Regions from separate parts of the Homo sapiens genome. Here regions 1, 3 and 4 are each linked to region 2. Evidence: promoter capture Hi-C in 16 types of primary human blood cells and fetal thymus (Javierre and others, 2016). All regions are on one chromosome and are shown on one strand. Each heading gives the region's core, a stretch centred on a gene start or on the middle of the fragment in contact. The rest is flanking DNA. Distances are from core to core; before and after follow the strand shown.

The links. The method cuts DNA at HindIII sites, captures the fragments that hold promoters and counts their contacts. A CHiCAGO score of 5 or more calls a contact.
Region 1: a fragment that was not itself captured here is called in contact with the fragment with the promoter of RBM45 in region 2 in 1 of 17 cell types (erythroblasts); the score reaches 9.1 in erythroblasts.
Region 3: a contact is called between a fragment that was not itself captured here and the fragment with the promoter of RBM45 in region 2, in 7 of 17 cell types (erythroblasts, megakaryocytes, M0 macrophages and 4 more). The highest score is 14.9, in erythroblasts.
Region 4: a fragment that was not itself captured here is called in contact with the fragment with the promoter of RBM45 in region 2 in 3 of 17 cell types (megakaryocytes, endothelial precursors and M0 macrophages); the score reaches 9.8 in megakaryocytes.

The regions. Positions count from the first base shown.
Region 1 is chr2:178,490,973-178,494,577 of GRCh38, reverse strand. It overlaps PLEKHA3 (pleckstrin homology domain containing A3), which reads right to left. Exons shown (of 8, transcript NM_019091.4): 4 at 589-725. Among named protein-coding and RNA genes, the nearest start is that of PLEKHA3, 12 kb to the right of the region's middle. The HindIII fragment of the contact is 5,507 bases long and covers 1-3,605 here.
Region 2 is chr2:178,110,719-178,114,062 of GRCh38, reverse strand. RBM45 (RNA binding motif protein 45) reads right to left here and starts at 1,626. Exons shown (of 10, transcript NM_152945.4): 1 at 1,217-1,626. The coding sequence starts at 1,516. RefSeq lists an enhancer at 1,421-1,590. The HindIII fragment of the contact is 3,392 bases long and covers 1-2,050 here.
Region 3 is chr2:178,394,346-178,397,889 of GRCh38, reverse strand. It overlaps OSBPL6 (oxysterol binding protein like 6), which reads right to left. Exons shown (of 25, transcript NM_032523.4): 24 at 3,455-3,544; 25 at 1-2,439. The coding sequence ends at 2,331. Among named protein-coding and RNA genes, the nearest start is that of CHROMR, 18 kb to the left of the region's middle. The HindIII fragment of the contact is 2,738 bases long and covers 340-3,077 here.
Region 4 is chr2:178,431,033-178,434,316 of GRCh38, reverse strand. PRKRA (protein activator of interferon induced protein kinase EIF2AK2) reads left to right here. Exons shown (of 8, transcript NM_003690.5): 8 at 2,063-2,903. The coding sequence ends at 2,220. CHROMR (cholesterol induced regulator of metabolism RNA) reads right to left here. Exons shown (of 5, transcript NR_110204.1): 4 at 842-935. Among named protein-coding and RNA genes, the nearest start is that of PRKRA, 18 kb to the left of the region's middle. The HindIII fragment of the contact is 1,688 bases long and covers 890-2,577 here.

The DNA of each region.
Region 1 (3,605 bases), core at 839-3,338, 380 kb before region 2:
AAGAAATAGGAAGATTTCTTGCCCCACTTCTACCAAGTTAGGCAAAAAGGGACAGGCAACATGCTGGCCTTTCACCCAGAGAGTGGTATAGCTCACTGGTCCTATTTTACCATGAAGAATGAGCCTATTATAGCCCGATCCTACTAATCTGAGTTTTGATTCCTAAGTCACTGTTCTGAGAAGGATTTGTTTTAAGTTATTTCATAAAGATAAGTTATCAACTCTCATAGTTGAAGCAGGGACCTTATTACCAAAAAAAGAGAATAGCAGCTGTCCAGTGAATTTATGCCGCTAGCCTGGAGAACAAAGCCTGGAATGCTTCTTCCCCACTCCAACCTCCAAATTATCAGACTGGCTGCAAAGACAAGCCTTGACCCCTGGAGAAATATGCTACTTCATGTTCTTCTCTGGCCACACAGACACAATCGAGAAGATGCTACAGATTTCCAGATAGTATACAGTAGGCAGAACCCAGAAAAGCTGAAAATAACTCAATGTGAAAATGCCTGTCATCTTATGGAATGACTGAGGATCCCCCCAGAGTACTCCAAAGCATAACCACACGTGAAGAGATCCTCTTCGCTCTACCTCTGCACTAGGAGATGAATGATTCTCATCATGGTGAACAAATTCCTGTATTGTATGAACTTGCTGCATTAAGAGGTCACAGTAGAGGCGAAGTTCAGACATTTTGGTTTTCAGCGATTCACTGGTTTCACTTATTTCTGAAAAGAATATACATAAATATACAGTTAGATCATTTTCATATTCTTTGAGCAATGTAACAAAATGTAATCATTTAAAAAAGCAATGAATATAAATACCTATAGCTCAAGAAATGTGAGACCTTGGAAACAGGATACAAGAGCCCTAAGGAAACATCTTCTCTTCAGATAATTGGGAAAAAGCTGACAGTTATATGCCTGCCATGTTTAGGTGATTTCCAGAGATAGGATGATGACCACTGGATGTTTTATACAGGATATTTCCATTCCATTACTCATCTTCCATTTAAAAAGTGCTTGGTTTTCTTTTGTGAATTGCTTTTTTATTTTGTCCTTTATACATTTTTTCCAGTTCTGATGTTGGTTTTTCTCTTAACAATATAAACTGATAGTTTGTAAAAGTTCTTACAAATTAAAGATAGTAATCTTTCCTCTATCTTATATACTGCAAATACCTTATCCAGATCTGTTAGCTTCCTTTCAGTTTTCTTTATTTTGGCTTACAGAAGTTTTAAATTTTTATGTAATTAAAACTATTGTTTATAAACATTCATTTATTTTCTTCTGTTTCTTTCAGTTTCATTCTCACATTATACTATTTTCAAAATTTTTTATTAAGAGCATACTTTCTTCCTTAGTATGTCCAGACAAACTAAACATCCAGCCATAATCTCAGCCACTCACAAGCCAATACCTTTTAAACTAGAAGTATAAGCTACAGAGGAGGAAAATTCATAGAGTAAATTTCTGGTGCTTCTCCACACTCCCTGGGCCAGGCCCCAGTGGTCTTGCTCTCTGGTCCTAGCCACAAAGCCACTTTTGCCAGAATGGACAAAGCAGCTCTATCTGCGCATTTAATCTAACCTAAATCAATTCCTGCTCATATTTAAGCCTATTCTTTCTCCTTTTTAAAAAAAACTGTGGTAAAGTATACATAAACATAAAATTTACTATTTTAACCACTTTTAAGTATTCACTTCAAAATGTGCCATTAAGTACATTCGTATTTGTAAAATCATCACCACCATCCATCTCCAGAACGTCTTCATCTTCCCCAGCTGAAGGTCTGTACCCACTAAACACTAACCCTGTTTCCACCTCCCCCTGGGCCCTGGAAACCAACATTCTATTTTCTGTCTGTATAAGTATGACTGCCCTGGGTATTTCATATAAGTGGAATCATAGACTATATGTCCTTCTGTGATTAGCTTTTTTTTTTTTTTAATCATTATTATACTTTAAGTTTTAGGGTACATGTGCACAATGTGCAGGTTAGTTACATATGTATACATGTGCCATGCTGGTGCGCTGCACCTACTAACTTGTCATCTAGCATTAGGTATATCTACCAATGCTATCCCTCCCCCCTCCCCCCACCCCACATGATTAGCTTTTTTTACTTATTGTAATGTCTATAAGGTTCATCCACAGTGTAGCATGTGTCACAATTTGCTTTTTAAAGCTGAGTAATATTCTATTGTATATTTTGTTTATCCATTCCTCTACCAATGAACATTTGGGTTATTTCCATCTTTTAGCTATTGTGAATATTCATTCCTTCTTATCCTACCTGTAGCTATATTCTGTAATGTTTTCATATATTTCAAAATTGTTATAAATTCAATCCTCAGCCTTCATTTCTCAATACCTATAATTTACTTGCTTTCACTAATGTAATTAATTTGCATTTAATTATATAAGTAATACATACTTAATAAAAAATTTTGAAAAATAGAAAAAATATAGAAAAGAAAAATCAAATAACTGTACTATGGTTTGAATATCGTTTGTTTCCAGCAAAACTCATGTTGAGTCTGGGTCCCCAGTGTGGCAGTGTTAGGAAAGTAGTACTTTTAACAAGTGATTAGGTCGTCAAAGGAGTGAGTGAGTTCTCAACCTCTTGGGACTAGATTAGTTACTATGAGAGCGGGTTGTTATAAATCGAGGCTGCCTCTTGGGTTTGATCTCTTTCCGCACACACCCGCTTTCCCTTGCTTCCTCCGCCATGCTATGATGCAGCATGAGGCCCTCACCAGAAGCCAACTAGATACAGCTGCCCAATCTTGAACTTCCAGCCTCTAGGGCCATGAGTCATACCTCTTTTCTTTATAAATTACAGTCTCAAGTATTGTGTCAAAGCAACAGAAAATGAACTAAGACAAACTATAATCTCACTATCAAGAAATTGTCATTTTCACATTATATCTGTATATAGTTGAACTAATAACATAAATCATTTGCTTTGCTTTCAGTTTCTAAAAATCTTTTTGAATTGGCAATATGCGTACATGGTAAAGTCAAAAGATACCAAAGGGTATATACAGTGACAACTGAGTCTCCTTCCCACAAATTCCACTTCCAAAGGTAACAATCTGACCAATTCTTACATACCTTTCCTAAGCCAGCCAATGAATACTAACAATACACATAATTCTGAATCCTGCTTTTTTCAATGATCATTTAACCCTGGGCATTTTCTCACATTGAAATTCCTTTTCAACATCTTACTGTCTATATATCAGCCAGTGAAAGCACGAGTTTAGGCTGGGCGCAGTGGCTCATGCCTGTAATCCCAGCACTTTGGGAGGCCGAGGCGAGCGGATTACCTGAGGTCGGGAATTCGAGACCAGCTTGGCCAGCATGGTGAAACCCCGTCTCTACTAAAAATACAAAAATTAGCCAGGCATGGTAGCAGGCACCTGTAATCCCAGCTACTCGGGAAGCTGAGGCTGGAGAATCGCTTGAACCCAGGAGGCAGAGGTTGCAGTAAGCCGAGATCGCGCCATTGCACTCCAGCCTGGGCAACAGAGTGAGACTCCATCTCAAAAAAAAAAAAAAAAAAGAAAGAAAGAGTTTATTGAGCCATTCCCCTAAATTTAT
Region 2 (3,344 bases), core at 377-2,876:
CCTACAATTAATTTTGTTGCTGTCACTCTGACACACTTCAGAGGGTTGGAGAAGTGGGAGGAAGGGACTGTTTACTGTGTTGTTGGTAGAGTCCCAGGCTCCTTCTCTTTGGTGGATGGAGCAAGACCTCCAGAGACTGAAATATCTCTGAGCCCTTTATTTACATAAATCCATATTAATACCATTCTCAGTTTGGAAAACAATTTTTTAAAAAATTGAGAAAATATTTTTGTGCAAAGTACCAACAGAATAACATACACAGCAACTATTTACATGGGGCAGACGAAGGCTACAATTTAAGCAATTGCCAGATTCTCAGGATTGAGTCCTGATTTGAGATCACAGGGAGTAAGCTGTGACATCTTGGCTACTACTGATCAATAACAAGGACATTATTGAGGGCTTACCCTGTGTGAGGCACTGTGCTGACAGCACATATTATGTCAAATAACCCTCAAAATGATCCTTCCTGCCATGTGTCATTATCACAATGATTTGGCTCTTCTTAAGGCAGTTTACTTTGGTCTGCTTTCAAAGAAAAGTTGCAGTAACAGAAAGGGTCAAGAACCAAATGTATGCTATTAACACTTTCAGAAACAGAGCTCATTCAAAACAATTTTCCAAAATAACAAAATGTGAAGAATATGTAACAGTGACCGTTTTAAACACCTGCACTTATTCTTTCTGTACATGTATTCTTTCGCCTGGTACTAGGAAAACGTCCAACACCAGAGGTCCCTCCCCAGTTTAAAGTACTTCTGTCAAGTTGTTAACGCCTCATCTGTACCTGAGGAAAAGTAGAGTTTTTCCGTTTTTTATATATGGAAATCTGGGCATCTGAGAGAGGAAGGTCAGAAAAGTACTCAAAGTAGGCTAGGACGAGTTTGGCAGTGAACTCAAGAGCTGGTGGATTAGTGAGGGCGAGGGAGAGGGGAAGCCCAGCCACTGCTGTTCTGTCACCCGGTGGCCGCGGCTGCCGGGTCCGCTCTCGTGGGGCAAACACTCCGCATCCCGTCCCCTTCCCTGCAACCCGGCGCAGCTTCGTGGGAGGGGAGCCTCTCCTCAAAGCAGCCCCTGTCCCCAAGCCAGGTGCTGTCTGGTCAGCTGCCGGGAACGGATGTTCCACTCCTCCCTCACCCCGGCAGAGCAGCAGGTGAAGGGAGGTCCAAGAGGCCCACTCCTTCCCCCGAGGGCACCCCGACCCGGGCACCCGCACCTTGATGGGCTTGGTGTCGTTGGGGCCGAGGCACTGGCCATGCATCTCCTCCATGGCCCTGCAGGCCTGTGAGCTGCGGGCGAACTTGACGAAAGCAATGCCCTTGGACTCCTTGGTGTGCTTGTCCCGCACCACCCAGATGTCCTGGATGTCGCCAAAAGGCGAGAAGCGCTCCCTCAGCACCGACTCAGGTGTGTACTTGCTGATCACAAGGAAGATGCGGCTGTTGGGCGGTTCGTCCAGGCTGTCCACGCCCGGGCGGAAGCCCCCGCCGCTCGCAGAGCTGCCAGCTTCGTCCATGGTGCTCCACCCGAATGCAGGAGCCTCACTGCTCTTTGCTTCTGCGGTGTCTGCCACCGCTGCTGTCTCACACCCAAGCCTTTGCCGGCTCGGTGCTCCGCTTCCGGGAGAAAGAGGAGTCCGGCGCCAGGCGCTGTCCAGCCGCGCAGGATGAGGCCTTCCGGGGAGCGGCCTGCAGCGCCCCCTGGCGACGCGGGGGACCCTGACCCAGTCTAAGTCTCAAATCCTCAAATCCAGCTGAGCCTAGGCCCAAGTTATCAGTTGTGCAATCGTTCCCTGCAGGCAGAACAGCGCTGCCTAATGCACAGGCTTTCCCAACGCTGGCTTTACCCCACCCCTAAGGCCAAGGATTCTTTCCAGTGTTAAAGAAAAAATTATTCATGACACTCGTTAGAGATGGTACAGGAAGGCCGACTTTGACAAAGGGAGCCATGGAGATAGGTCCAGGGACAGCTGCAATGGGGTCTTGCAGTGGGAGAGAGAGATTGGACTGAATTTTGACTCTAATAAGGACAAATTTCTAACCAAGAAGCTTGGTGGGAGGTCAGTGGATGGAAAATTACAAAGAGGGAACATCAGTGTTAAGGAGGATTCTGGCTAAACCAACTTGACAGGATAGTTGCTGAAGGCAGGCCAGGGTGATTGATATCCATGGTAGTCAGACACCAAGAATGAGGATTTTCACTACACTGATTCAGCAGGATTCTTGCTCAAATTGGATTCTACAAGGACAGAAAGCCCAAGATCAAGCCTAGTCAAGCAGAGGACTCAAAGGAGCCTAACTAAGTTTTGGTCAAAGTGGAGAGTTGTCACCATCTTGGTCATAAGCTCAATAGATGATCAATATAGGACAGAGTTCAAACTATATAGCATTAGAGTTGGAAGGAAGCTTTGAGATCATTCAATTTCAGCGTCATTTGTTAGAGATGAGGAAACTGAGGCCTATAGCATAGCCAAAGTAATAGAGATAAAAAGTACGACTAAAACCAGAACTAACTTGGCCAGGCGCAGTGGCTCACGTCTGTGATCCCAGCACTTTGGGAGGCCGAGGCGGGCGGATCACGAGGTCAGGAGATCGAGACCATCCTGGCTAACACGGTGAAACCCCGTCTCTACCAAAAAAATACAAAAAAATTAGTTTGGCGTGGTGGCGGGCACCTGTAGTCCCAGCTACTCAGGAGGCTGAGGCAGGAGAATGGTGTGAACCCAGGAGGCACAGCTTGCAGTGAGCAGAGTTTGCACCACTGCACTCCAGCCTGGGGGATAGAGCGAGACTCCACCTCAAACAACAACAACAACAACAAAAAACCCAGAACTAACTCCATCTGTTGATTTACTCAACTTCTACAAGCAACCCTGGGGTTGGAGGGCAGTGAGGGTGGACTGCTCAGCTGTGGAACTAAGAGAAATCATAGAGTGCAAGCAAAGTGGGAAATGCCTTCTTGTTAACAAGCCTTAGAGGAGAGGTCAGAAACCCAGTAGAAATCCAGAAACAAGGCCTGGATTTAGCAGTGGCATTGGAATGAAGTGAAAGGAATAAACCCCTAAGTAGACCGAGGGCGGAGTTCTTCAAATGAACAAGTTCTGGATGCTAAGACCTAGGTTGCTATGAAGTCAACCAGATAAATACTTATTGTACTCCAACTGTGTGCCAGGCTCTATGCCAGGAGCTAGATATATAATGAGGAACAGGAAAGACATGTCCCGAGGGCTTGTTTTCCCCCACTGTGGAAATCTTACATGTAAATATATAATGCAAAGTAATATCAGATTATGTTACATGGTTTTGCTACTGAATTGTGTGAGCCTGGACAAGTTACTTAATACT
Region 3 (3,544 bases), core at 459-2,958, 280 kb before region 2:
GTCCTCATCAGAGTGTCAGGCTACCTCTGACCAACATTCACTCACCTGATTTGTACCATGACCTTACTGTCTGGTAAAGATCCTTTCTACTATTTTTTCTTTTTTGTAATTATAACCCAAATTGCTAAGTACAGTCGTTGCTTCCCTGATGGGTCCTGGATCCTCTTCCAGCTACCTGATACCACATCTGATGGTCAGCTGCTGCTCCCTTTCCTTCATCTCTGCTTGTAAAAACCTTTACTTTGCAGGATTGTTTTCTTATGTTTAGGCTATTTTGAGACTGTTCAGGGAAGTGCTAGTAAGTACAGACCAGAACCACTTTAAATAGTATTTAAAGCTTTATCAACCATAGGAGAACAGACTCCCGTGAGGAAGTCAATAGGATTCTTATTAAAATTAACGACATGTATCTCAGGATGCAGAAAAAGAACATCAAGATGAATGAGCAGAAAAAGAATCAATATCAAGGGGAAGATTTTACTGCCGCAGGGCAAGCCACCTATGGATTTAAAATGGGAATGAGAGGAATAGAGAGGGTATTGTTGAAGCAGAATGCTTAGATCTGGTGATGGATTCGAAAATTTACCTGAGAATGAAATTCCATTCTAAGCTAATGCAGACTGTACACATAACATAAAAACTCAGATGCAAGGGAGGAGTTTTGGATAAATAAAATATTGCGCCATCTAGTGGAAACGTTAGCGCTTTCTCTTACACTCTCATCAGCAGTTTTTCATTTGATGGTGTATTAGCCATTATTAGGAATGCTTTGCTGAGGAGAAATACCACTAAAATCAACACCTCATAATAAAATGTAAAGTGTCTGTAACTGTATCAGAGTTTTAAATAACACTTAAATTCTAATGGTAAGAATCCAAGAATAAACATCTAACTAACAATAAAATATATGTAATTTTATAATTCCCTAGGAAAATCTCTGAGGAGATATTTTAAAAAAAACATACAGGCATTTATATAGTCACCTACGTGCAGAAACAGGAATACTGATGCAAGTTTTCTGCAAAAGCCTCTGTATATTAGTGGAGGAAAAACAAATCCTGAAGTATGCAAAACACACTTCTGCTTTCCTGCTTTGGGATGGATACATTCCTTAGCTTAAGTTTCATATCTCTGCCAATAGCAAGGTAAATGCTTAATATGTAGCCATGTACCATATGGAATCACTTGATGAAAATTTGAAATATGATTTTGCATAGAATTCATTTAAACAATGCAAATAAACTACTATTATTCTTGCTTCTGTTCTCAGTGGAATTCGACTAGTGTCAGTGGAGCGGGCATGGGATTGAGACATGGATTACATGGTGCTTCACTCAAAAACAATTACATTTATAGTACTACTAAGCCCACACAGGAATTCCATATGCTTTTTGTTATTTCCTTTTAAGGTTTTAACACTGATGACCAAATGTCCAAATCAAAGACAGATTTTTCCAAATAATAGGGCACACTGTGAGGTTAGGTGGAAGAGGGATGGTTTATTATCTGGACGCAGGACAGGAAATTAACGAGCCACGTAAATACAGAGATCTACTTAGCACGTCTTTTCCTTCTTTCCCTTCAGACATACCATATGGTAACTGACTTATCAGAGTAAAGCACGTGTTGTTCACTTTTAAAAAACCCATTTAAGTTAGTCTCATAATTGTCCTGATTGAGAAAGTGAATCATGCCATGATTCAAAAAATCTGTTCTTCACATAAACCTATGAGCACACATTTTAAAAATGATTTATTGTACATCTTTGCATTTCTTAAGGCATGAACAATGGCATACAGATGGAACAGGTTCTGAGAAGCATCACATCTTTTTCGACAAGGCCAGCACAATCACACCACATCAAACAGACACACTTGAAGTCTGCACTGACCGACTGCTTGTGGCCCAGGAGTCCTGCGATAGGGGATGGTGCTTCCAGACAGTGGAACAATCGTGTGGTTTCTATGTTGTTGTTAACTTTCTTGATCAGCTTTAAGCACCAGTTACCATTTGTTTTTCTTTACAAACTGGTCAGACTTTGGATTTTATATTCTGCTCCTTTTATTCTGCTTTCCAAGGACGGTGTGGATTTTTTTTTTTTTTTTTTTTTTTTTTTTAAGGAATATGGTTGCAGCAAAACAGAAAGGATCCCAAAGTGGTTAGGGGCCTTGTCTAATGCACTTCTGAAAGTCCATTATAAAGATGAATAGAAAAGCAAATGGTAGGTTTTCAGTTGACCCAGAAACCACACATAGCTATAAGAAACATAATTGTGCATAGTTATTTATTCATTCAGAATGTGATATGTTGGCTAGCTCTACATTCCCAGTCTACCAAAGAACAGGGCTGTCTACTTTGCTAAACCCAGGGTCCTTTCGAAGCTCCCAGTAGGTGTCGTTAGAAACCCAGGCTTCTCTTTGATTGGCATCAATAACTTTTCTGTGAAAATATAAACATCAACATTAGTCATGAATCACATCAAGGTAACCTTAAATAGGACCCTCTCCTATAGATTAGACATGGACATATAAGCAGTGTTTGTAAGCCAGTTAGTATCTTATCTGCTAGCTACTGATGATGTGACTATTTTTGACTGGAAGTGAAGTCATTTTTGTTGTTAAATGTGTGAAATGGAAGTAGGTAGGGCCAGGGGGAGAGGAACTCAGGGCAGGAACAAATTACCTCCTGGCAGGGGTAAAAAGTAAATAGCCCCCAATAAAGCATATACAAATACTGTAACTAAGAGCTTCAGGTCCCAGACCCACAAGAATCCTTTCTCCTTCACTAAAAGTATGCAATATCAGTAGCTCTAAGAGCCCCTACTGGGCCCATGTCCAAGGAGCACATTTTAGACATCTGAAGGGCAAGGCTGCATTTCTACCCCAGGGCAGTAATGACAGGACAAGTCTAAAGGAGATAAGGTTACCCTGAGCTTTTTGTCCTGGCTCTGGAGGGCAACAGATGCATTTGGAAACCTCAGATTAATCTGTGTGATGTATATATAATCCTGCAAATAATCCTGTAATAATCACCTACTATCATACCACAGAGAGACCAAATCTAAACACACACAAGCTTTGTGTGATAGAAATAAAATGAAATCCTAATAAAAGCCAGGATGATCTTGTGGGCAGTGGGGTCTGGTTCAGTCCCTGGCTAAGGGAGTGGGAACCAGTTTCCACCATTCTAAAGAGTGCAGCTGAAGGACAAAGAGCCTTCTGGGCAGGATGCTCACTCTTTTCTGCTGCCCATGAAAAGAGAAGAGCTGTAGAAAAAATTTCTTTTTATAGTTACTAACTTTTCATAAGTGCAAAATCGATTCAATATTTTCACTGCCAAAAGCAAAGATACCAAAATCCATTTACCCATTTTATTTTCATTTAACTGGAGTTTCTCATGGCCTGTGGCAACCATTTGCAAAACATGAACTTGCTATGGGAGTTAACTGACTTACTTAAAAAATTTTGGTATATGTTCAAGATTGTTTTCTTCCATATATCGTCTCCGAGATCTCTGGAGTTCCTCTACTCTTTGCTTCTCTGAT
Region 4 (3,284 bases), core at 484-2,983, 320 kb before region 2:
CAACACGGTGAAACCCTGTCTCTACTAAAAATACAAAAATTAGCCAGACAAGGTGGCGTGCACCTGTAATCCCAGCTACTCGGGAGGCTCAGGTGGGAGAATCACTTGAACCCGGGAGGCAGAGGTTGCAGTGAACCGAGATCGCGCCACTGCACTCCAGCCTGAGTGACAGAGTGAGACTCTGTCTCAAAAAAAAAAAAAGAAAAGGTGGCTGATGAGAGACCATTCATCCAATAAATATTTATTACTGTCTACAGTTCATTGAGGGTTTAGAATACAGAGATGAACGACCCATGTCATGAATAGGACTATGGAGGATACAGAATCTGGGGGAAAAAAGGAAACCCAAGATAAATTTTTAGATTATGAATTAATGATGCCTCTGAAACATTTCTTCCCAGTTTTGAGAACTAAATAGTTCTTGTAGATATGGAAAGCCATCTAAAAACCACAGTCTGTTAATTTGGCTAGTTTATATGCAGCTACCTTCAAAAGAACCTAGATATTCTCCAAAGGAGATATACAAATGGGCTGGGCAAAGTGGCTCACACCTGTAATCCCACCCCTTTGGGAGACTGAGGCATGAGCATCGCTGGAACCCAGGAGTTTGAGACCACCTGGGCAACATAGTGAGAGCCTGTCTCAAAATTTTAAAATTAAAAAAGAAAAATGACCAAATGACCAAAAAATACATGAAAAGATGCTCGATATCATTAGTCAATAGAGAATGCAATCAAAACCACGATAATAAGGTACCACTTCAAATCCACTAGGATGGCTATCATTAATGAAATGGAAAATAGCAAGTGTTGGTGATGATGTAGATAAACTGGAACCTTACACGTTGCTGGTGGGAATATAAAACAGTTCAGCCTCCATGGAATAAGCTTCTCAGTTCCTCAAATGAATTGCCATATGACCCAGCAACTCCACTCCTAGGAGTATAAATAAAAAACTGGTATTTAAACAAATGCCTATACACACAGGTATCTGTATATTCATAGCAGCACCATTCACAAAAGCCAAAAGGTAGAAACAGCCCAAAACATCCATCAGTGAATAAGTGGATAAACAAATTGTGGACTGTCCTTCCAATGAAATATTATTCAGCTGTAAAAAGAAACGAAGTTCTGATACATTCTACAACATGGATGAGCCTCAAGCAGAAGCTGGAGGGTCAGGAGAAAAGAACCTAGATACTAGAACTAGAAAGCCTCTTTACTCATTAAATAATCCCATTGTATCTGGATATTTTCCACTAAATAGAGTATCAAAAATAACATTTTTATTATGCCTACTTCAAATAAATCATACCGCACACGTTTCTATTTCTTCCTCTTTGCCCTCATTTCAGCCATCTTTAGTAAGAGTGGCTCATCAGTTGATGGGAAGAACGTTTGTTTCCTGGGTCAGGTATTGTTTTTAAAATACCATGACCCATTTACAGTATAAATAAAGAACTAGACTCTGCACAGACTTAAAACCTAGGAACATGAATGGACAACAGCATAAATACATACAATTATTATGTATCAATTAAACATTTTTTTTTAATAGAAGACACAAGGGAGGTTTTGCCTTGACCGAAGTTATTCCTGGTTCAAATGCCTCCTGAAAATGACTTCCTAGTGGAAAATACAATCTCTCCAGTCCTCTAGCAAATGGTTCTTTCCCTTTTGAGAAAGTTACTGTGTGGTTCAGTAATTTCCAAATAGTGTTCAACTAACTATATTAGAATTGCCTTGGGAGCTGTTATTTTTTTAAGTGTAGGAATCAGCCACCCCCAACTGTATATTTCTGATTGAGTGAGCTAGAGTGCAGCCTAGATATCTGTATGTCTTTAACACTGTCAGATCATTATGAAGTGTAATGTGTTTGAAAACTGCTACAGCTGAGCAGTTGTGGTTTTTTGTTTGTACAAGCAAAACAAAGATTGCGAGTGGTGTAGTATACCATGGAGGCTTAAAAAGAAAGACAATAATAAGAATTGTATTGTTTTTACAAAGGGATCCACTTTATACATATTGGACATTAATCGTCATCCTTGAATGTGTCATTACAGATGAACTGAGCGCCAATGGACAATATCAATGTCTTGCTGAACTGTCCACCAGCCCCATCACAGTCTGTCATGGCTCCGGTATCTCCTGTGGCAATGCACAAAGTGATGCAGCTCACAATGCTTTGCAGTATTTAAAGATAATAGCAGAAAGAAAGTAAATCTGGAGCAACTTAAAAAATCTTTCAGTAGCACATAAAAAGTTCCCCTCTGGCCCCTTCCCAAGTAAAACTTTTACCGTAGTGTTTATGTCTTGTTTCTAAATCTCTTCATAGATTCCATCAACACTCCAGATTTAATTATCTCCTCATAGTTGTTATTAAGCTCTTTTTAATGGCTTCAACTTTGTATCAGTATACTGTATTTATAAACTTTGTACCACAAGAGAGAGTGTAGCACCCATTTTACAGTGCCATGCACATCAGAGAAAGAAACTGCATGTTTGTTGTTGATGATGAAATAAAAATGCTAGCGACAGTCTTTCTTACTGGTGCTTAAGCTCTTCTTTGCACAAAGCTTTATAAAGGGAATTCAAAGGAAGCCCTTTAGAATTAGAGTCTTGAGGGACAGCACTAACAGGCCTTTATTAAGTATGATTGATTGTTAAATTTCAGGGAACATGATTGGTCTGCTGTGTATTTGAATTCATGTAACAAAGAACTGTTACGATGGGATTCTGCTCATTTTATTAAAAAGCTACTGACTTGACTGTCATCCTGTTCTTGTTAGCCATTGTGAATAAGATTTTAATGTTGATAATTCTGTTATTTACATATCTCTAATTTACTTTGAAATTCAAAGGTGAAAATAAAAAATGATGGCCTAAGTAAAATTTACAAACATACATGTAATGGGTTACTTCCTTACTTTCTCTAAGCGTATGCAACCTTGTATTTTTCTTTGACATAACCATACACAGGTGAATTACTAGTTTAAAAAGCATTTGACCATGCATGTTGGCTCATGCCTATAATCCCAACTCTTTCGGAGGCCAAGGTGGGAGGATCCCTTGAGGCCAAAAGTTTGAGACCAGCCTGGGCAACATAGTGAGTCCCCATCTCTACCAAAAAGAAAATCAGGTGTGGTGGCACACTTTGAGTCCCAGCTACTCAGGAGGCTGAGGTGGGAGGATTGCTTGGGCCCAGAAGATCAAAGCTGCAGTGAGCTAGGATCACAGCACTGCACTCCAGCCTGGGTGACAGAGTGAGACCCTGTCTCAAAAAAA